2 separate regions of the Homo sapiens genome follow, and region 1 is linked to region 2. Evidence: promoter capture Hi-C in 16 types of primary human blood cells and fetal thymus (Javierre and others, 2016). All regions are on one chromosome and are shown on one strand. Each heading gives the region's core, a stretch centred on a gene start or on the middle of the fragment in contact. The rest is flanking DNA. Distances are from core to core; before and after follow the strand shown.

The links. Contacts are between HindIII fragments. The CHiCAGO score rates a contact against its expected background, and 5 or more counts as called.
Region 1: a fragment that was not itself captured here is called in contact with the fragment with the promoter of PRR35 in region 2 in 1 of 17 cell types (endothelial precursors); the score reaches 5.4 in endothelial precursors.

The regions. Positions count from the first base shown.
Region 1 is chr16:386,764-390,101 of GRCh38, forward strand. All of the region lies in intron 2 of LOC100134368 (a long non-coding RNA gene), which reads left to right. It also overlaps a transcript of PGAP6 not described here and the pseudogene RPL23AP5. Among named protein-coding and RNA genes, the nearest start is that of PGAP6, 6.5 kb to the left of the region's middle. The HindIII fragment of the contact is 3,189 bases long and covers 208-3,338 here.
Region 2 is chr16:559,138-562,412 of GRCh38, forward strand. PRR35 (proline rich 35) reads left to right here and starts at 1,257. Exons shown (of 3, transcript NM_145270.3): 1 at 1,257-1,524. RefSeq lists enhancers at 1,381-1,927, 1,928-2,473. The HindIII fragment of the contact is 12,132 bases long and covers 1-3,275 here.

The DNA.
Region 1 (3,338 bases), core at 552-3,051, 170 kb before region 2:
TGGCGCTGAAAGCAAAGAAGGAAGCTCCTGCCTCTCCTGAAGCCGAAGCCAAAGCGAAGGCTTTAAAGGCCAAGAAGGCAGCGTTGAAAGGTGTCCACAGCCACATAAAAAAGAAGACCCGCACGTCACTCACCTTCCAGCGGCCCAAGACACTGCGACGCCGGAGGCGGCCTGAATATCCTTGGAAGAGCACCCCCAGGAGAAACAAGCTTGGCCACTATGCTGTCATCAAGTTTCCGCTGACCACGGAGTCGGCCGTGAAGAGGACAGAAGAAAACAACACGCTTTTGTTCACTGTGGATGTTAAAGCCAACAAGCACCAGATCAAACAGGCTGTGAAGAAGCTCTATGACGGTGATGTGGCCGAGGTCACCACCCTGATTCCGCCTGATGGAGAGAAGAAGGCATGTGTTCGACTGGCTCCTGATTACGATGCGTTGGATGTTGCCAACAAAATTGGGATCATCTAAACTGAGTCCAGCTGCCTAATTCTAAATATATATATATATATATCTTGTCACCATAAAAAAAAAAATTGTAGCCAAGCATGGTGGCATGTGTGTCTGTAGTCCCAGCTACTCCACAGCCTGAGGCAGGAAGATCCCTTGAGCCCAGGAGGTCAAGGCTGCAGTGAGCCAAGATCGCACCACTGCACTCCAGCCTGGGTGACTGAGCGAGACCCCATCTCAAAAATAAATAAATTAACTAATTAAATCATTCAAGGGCTGGGGACGGTGGCTCACACCTGTAATCCCAACACTTTGGGAGGCAGAGGCGGGTGGATCACAAGGTCAGGAGTTCAAGACCAGCCTGGCTAATATGGTGAAAACTGTCTCTACTAAAAATACAAAAAACTGGCACGCACCTGTAGTCCCAGCTACTTGGGAGGCTGAGGCAGGAGAATCGCTTGAACCCGAGAGGTGGAGGTTGCAGTGAGCCAAGATCACATCACTGCACTCCAGCCTGGGTGACAGAGCAAGACTCCGTCTAAAAAAAAAAAAAAAAAAAAAAAGGAAAGGTCATTTCCCAATCCAAAAAAGTAGGAAGTATGTACCCTTTTTGAAGGGGATCTGCTCCTCCACACCTGTGGGTATTTCTCGTCAGGTGGGACAAGAGACTGAGAAAAGAAATAAGACACAGAGACAAAGTATAGAGAAGGAAAGGGGGGCCCAGGGGACCGGCGCACTCAGCCTGAGAGGACCTGCAGGGGCGCTGGTCTCTGAGTTCCCTCAGTATTTATTGATCATTATTTTTACTATCTTAGCGAGGGGAGTGTAGCAGGCCAACAGATGGAGAGAAGGTCAGCAGGGAAACATGTGAGCAAAGGAATCTGTATCATGAGTGAGTTCTAGGAAAGGTACTGTGCCGGGATGTGCACATAGGCCAGATTTATGTTTCACTTTACATAAACATTTCAGTGTAGCGAAGAGTAACAGAGCAGTATTGCTGCCAGCATATCTCGCCACCAGCCACAGGGCGGTTTTCTCCTATCTCAGAATAGAACGAATGGTCGGCTTTACACCGAGACATTCCATTCCCAGGGACAAGCAGGAGACAGAAGCCTTCCTCTTATCTCAGCTGCAAAGAGGCCTCTCTCCTTCACTGCTCCTCCTTAGCACAGACCTTTTTACGGGTGTGGAGCTGGGGGATGGTAAGGTCTTTCCCTCCCCACGAGGCCATATCTCAGGCTGTCTCAGTGCGGGGAAACCTTGGACAACTCCCAGGCTTTCTTGGGCAGAGGTCCCTGCGGCTTTCCGCAGTGCACTGTGTCCCTGATTAATCGAGAACGGAGAATGGCGATGACTTTTACCAAGCACACTGCCTGCAAACAAATTGTTCACAAGGCACATCCTGCACAGCCCTGAACCTATTAAACCTTGATTCAACACAGCACATGTTTCTGTGAGCACAGGTTTCTGTTAAAATTACAGGTTAACAGCATCTCAAAGCAGAAACAATGTTTCTTAGTACAGATCAAAATGGAGTTTTCTACATAGACACAGTAACAATCTCATCTCTCTTCTTTTCCCCACACTTTTTTTTTTCTTTTGAGACGAAGTCTCACTCTTGTCCCCCAGGTTGGAGTGCAATGGCGCGATCTCAGCTCACTGCAACCTCCGCCTCCCAGGTTCAAGCGATTCTCCTGCCTCAGCCTCCTGAGTAGCCGGGATTACAGGTGGACACCATCATGCCCCGCTAATTTTTGTATTTTTTAGTAGAGATGGGGTTTCATCATGTTGGCCAGGATGGTCTTGATCTCCTGACCTCAGGTGATCCGCCCGCCTCGGCCTCCCAAAGTGCTGGGAATGACAGTTCAGTTTTTTGTTGTTTTACATTCAGTCCAGCTTTTTGTTGTTGTTTTACGTTCAGCGGATGGCAGTAGACGGGTTTTTCTTTTTCCTTTTTTTTTTTTTTTATTGAGACAGGGTCTTGCTGTGTCGCCCAGGCTGGAGTGTAGTGGGAACATGGTGGCTCCCTGCAGCAATGGCCTCCTGGGATCAAAGGATCCCCCTGCCTCAGTCTCCCAGGTGATTACAGGCCAGCACCAGCACGCCCAGCAGTGGTTCTTATTTATCCCCATTTTGTCTGAGCAAATGAATGCCTGTCCTGGGTGTGGGTGCGAGTGAGCTGGAAGATGAAGGGCATGGGCAGTGACCGCACAGCGCTCAGCCTGCAGGGAGCCTGGGGTGAGTCCAGCAGCACTGGAGCGCGGAACCACAGCAGATGTCCTTGTCCCTTCCAAGGGGTGGGAACAAAGGTGACAGGGACAGAGATGGCTGCCGGGGTAGGAGGCCCAAGAGTTGCTCTCTGCTGAGAAGGCTCCCCTTGGTGTCCCTCAGAAGTGTACCTGGGCGGGCCGATGGGACTGGGACTGAGGCTGTGCTCCTCCTACAAGGAGGGGCCCACTCTTCCTGGATCTCCCTGCAGTGACCTCAGCAGAGGTGAAAGAGGTCTAGCCGGGCACAGTGGCTCACGCCTGTAATCCCAGCACTTTGGGAGGCTGAGGCAGGCGGATCACCTGAGGTCAGGAGATCGAGACCATGGTGAAACCCCGTCGCTACTTAAAATACAAAAAAAATTAGCAAGGCGCAGTGGTGGGCACCTGTAGTCCCAGCTACTCGGGAGGCTGAGGCAGGAGAATGGCGTGAACCGGGGAGGTGGAGCTTGCAGTGAGCTGAGATCCCGCCACTGCACTCCAGCCTGGGCGACAGAGTGAGACTCCGTCTCAAAAAAAAAAAAAAGAAAAGAAAAAGAAAGAGGTCTAGCCTGTGTACACGTGGAAATCCAAGAGGACAGGGAAGACAAACTGAGACAGAAAAAAAATATGTGAAGAAATA
Region 2 (3,275 bases), core at 7-2,506:
TCTCTGCCCCATTCGAGGGGTGACACCCAGAAGCCCCGTGGGGTCCTCCCTTCTTCCCCAAGGCACCCCTGACCCCGACCTGAGCTGGGGACAGCCCGGGAGCCTGCGGCTGAGCCTGCAGAGAGCCCCAGGTCCTGGGGAGCTATGTGGGCCGGGCTCCCTGTGCTGTTTCAGAGTCAGCAGGGAGTAGCACACTCCCCTCTGGCTGGAGACCCCGAGACGCCCGCCTACCGCAAGTGTCGGGTTTAGGACGTCTCCCCTGAGCGAAGTCAGGGGCTCTGCCCCAGCCATGCCTGTGTCCGGGAGGGAGCAGGCCGGTCAGGCGAACCTCCCCTAGGCCCCAGCTGAGCAGTGGGGCTCCAGGCCTTTACGTTCTGGCAGCTCAGGGAGCTGCTTGGAACTTGGTGCAGCCCGGGAGGTGGGGCTGGGAGCAGCCCTGGCCCTGCTTCTCTCCTCCACCGCCCCAGGTCCTCTCAGGAGGGGACTCCCGTGGGGAGGGGGTCTTTCAAACAGCAGGGAAGTGCGTGGCCTCGTGGGGCAGCGCTGAGGCACCTCCCACAGGAGCCGGGAGTGAGGGCTGGAGGGGTCCGCATCCAGGAAGGGGGAGGGTGCTGGAGACCAGCCCCAGGTGGAGGCGGTCAGCCGGCAGGGCGGGGTGCGAGGGGCCGGTCCGGGCAGCCTCCGGTTTAGAGGAAAAGAGAACGGAGGGCAGGGCTCGCCCAGGGAGGGCAAGGAAGGGAGCCCGGCTCCGCTGGCTCAGTCCGCGGCACCCCTGTCCCCCAGGACAGCCCCCAGGGGCCCTGGCTCGGGTGGGCCGGCGGCTGTCAGGGGCCAGAGCCCTGATGGATAAGCGCTGACGGCCCCTCTCCCGCGCCCCGCGCCGCTGACACCCATCACGCCGCGGCGGGGACCCGGGAGACCTGGCGGCCTCTGTGCACCCCCGCGGCAGCCTGCGGGCAACGGGGGCGGGAGGCGCCGGGCGCCCCTGACTCGGCCGCACACCTGCGCCGCAGTCCGCTCTCCGTCCGCTGCCTCCCGGGTTCCCGGCCGCTCCACCGCGCGCCCCGAGAGCTGAGCCGGTCCCGGCGCACGAGGCCGGTGAGTGCGCGCCAGGGGGCGGCGGGGGGCGCGCGGGCGGCGGGGGCGCGGGGTTCGGGCCGGGGGCTGCTCCTTCCCTCCCGCCGCGAGCGCGGTCGGAGGTCGCAGCGCCCCCCGGAGCCCGGAGCCCAGGCGCACGCGCGCCCGCCTCTGCCGCCAACTTCGGGAGGTGCGAGCGGCGTCGGGGGGACGCGGGCGGCGGCGGAGGCTGCGGGAGTCGCTGCCGCTCGAGGGACCGCGGACCCGGGAGGTCCGGCTCCCGGCGCCGGGCCTCAGTTTCCCCCACGGGAGCCGCATCCCACCCCCAGAGCCCCAGCGCGTCCGCGGGGTCCGAGTCGCGGCCGGCGCGGGGCGGGGAGGGGCGGGAAGTTTGCGCCCTACACGCGGCCTCGCAGACTTGGCGGCTCCGCTCCCGGCCGGGCGCAGGTAGGAGCGGCGGGAGCCGCGGGGGCGGCCAGTTGGGCGTCGCGGGGCCGGCTGGACGCGGGGCGCGGGGGCAGCGGGTGGCCAGGCGTGTGGGGGGCGCGGGGGGCGGCCGGGTCCCCCCCACCCTCTTCTCGAAGTCCAGGAGCAGCGCGGGGGGAGGGAGGGCCGCCCTCAGGGGCCAGGCGGGGAGGGCAGGGGCCGGGTCTGGGGTCTGGGGCAGACGCCTGACCTCGCGCTCGCCGCACCCGCCTGTGTGGGGCGCCCTGCGTTCCCGGGGGGGGGGGCAGCAGGATCTGCGGGTGGCCGATCAGGGTCCCCGGCTGCTGGGTGCCCCCTCCTGCCCTGTGGGGGTGCCTGTGCCCCCCGTGCCACCGGTTCTCCCCCAGCTCTCCCCCAAACAGGGACAGGTGAGTGGGGCCGGGTGTCGGGGCCTGGCACAGGGCTGCTGGCTGCCCCGGGAGCGATTGCCGGGTCCGGCTGGGACGCGCGTGTGAGTGCGTATGCGTTTGTGTGTGCGTGTGGCTGCTGTCCAGGGGTGTCTTTTGCTCTGTGTACACACACCAGGTGGGTGCCAGCTATCCTCCGGGTCCCCAAGGGGTCAGCAGCTGCTGAGACAGCCCCTTGGACAAGCCCCTGACCCGGGAGCCCCCGGTCCCTGCTGGGAGGCGGGATGGGTTGTGGCATCGGCTGGCACAGCTGTGTGGCTCCCAGGGCTGGGTGATCGATGGCCCGGCACAGCCGCCTCTGTCGCCGGAGCGCCCACACCCATTTGTCATCCACATGGGTGGGGGGGGCGGCGGGCAGGGAGAAGGGGCCGCCTCTGCACCCACCACCCAGTCCAGGCCGGGTCTGCAGCCCCTCGGGGAGCCCCAGGACCTCTCCTGGCCCAGCCCCTGCCTCCCGACCGCCACCCTGTCTCAGCCACAGACCAGCTGGTCAGCCTCTGCCTGCCCCTGCAGCCCGTGACTGCCCTGCAGGGCCCCAAGCCTTTGGACGAGTGGACTTCTCCAGCCCTGTTGGTCGTCCCCCCAACGGCACCAACACAGTGTTTTGGGGGCAGCAGACAGCAGTGCCCCAGCCCTACCCTGCTCAACCCACTGGCCATGCATGACCACGGGTGCGACCCCCAGCCAGGTCTGCGTGTGTCCTGGGGAGTCGGTGTGTAGGGCCTGTGTGAGCATGTGAGTGCCGTGTTGGAGTGGTTTGGAAAGCCCCCCCACACCTGGATGGGTGGTGAGTGTGTTATCACGGACAAGCAGCCGTGTTCACCGTGATGGAGTGTGAGGTGTGTGCAGCCAGGGCCCCGCACTTGGTGGCAGACTCCGTTCTGAGCTTAGGTGGCACAGAGGTGGCTTCTCCGGGCACTGGGTGAGGGCTCTGTGTGAGCCTGTGGGCTGTGTACACACACCCAAAGCCCGTGTGCGCAGGCGTGCTGTGCACCCCACACAGGCGCGTGCTGGGGCGGTGGACAGCCCAGGTGGCGGCCCAGATGGAGTGTGGCGCGCATACCAGCGCCGTGTGGGGCGTGGGGAGGAGCGGGTCTTGGCTGAGTGTGGCCGCTGCAGGCTCGGCCGCTGACCTGCCCGAAGCCACCCAGATGGAGCTGGGCTGAGCAGGTGGCTGAGCCGTGGGGCCATGCTGGGACGTCCACTCCCCACAGCCTGGCCTGGCCCCACATGAGACTGACCCCCTAAGAGACCCCCAGTGCCCACCTGACGCCCTGCTAGAGCAGGCTCTGTGCCGCCTTTAGA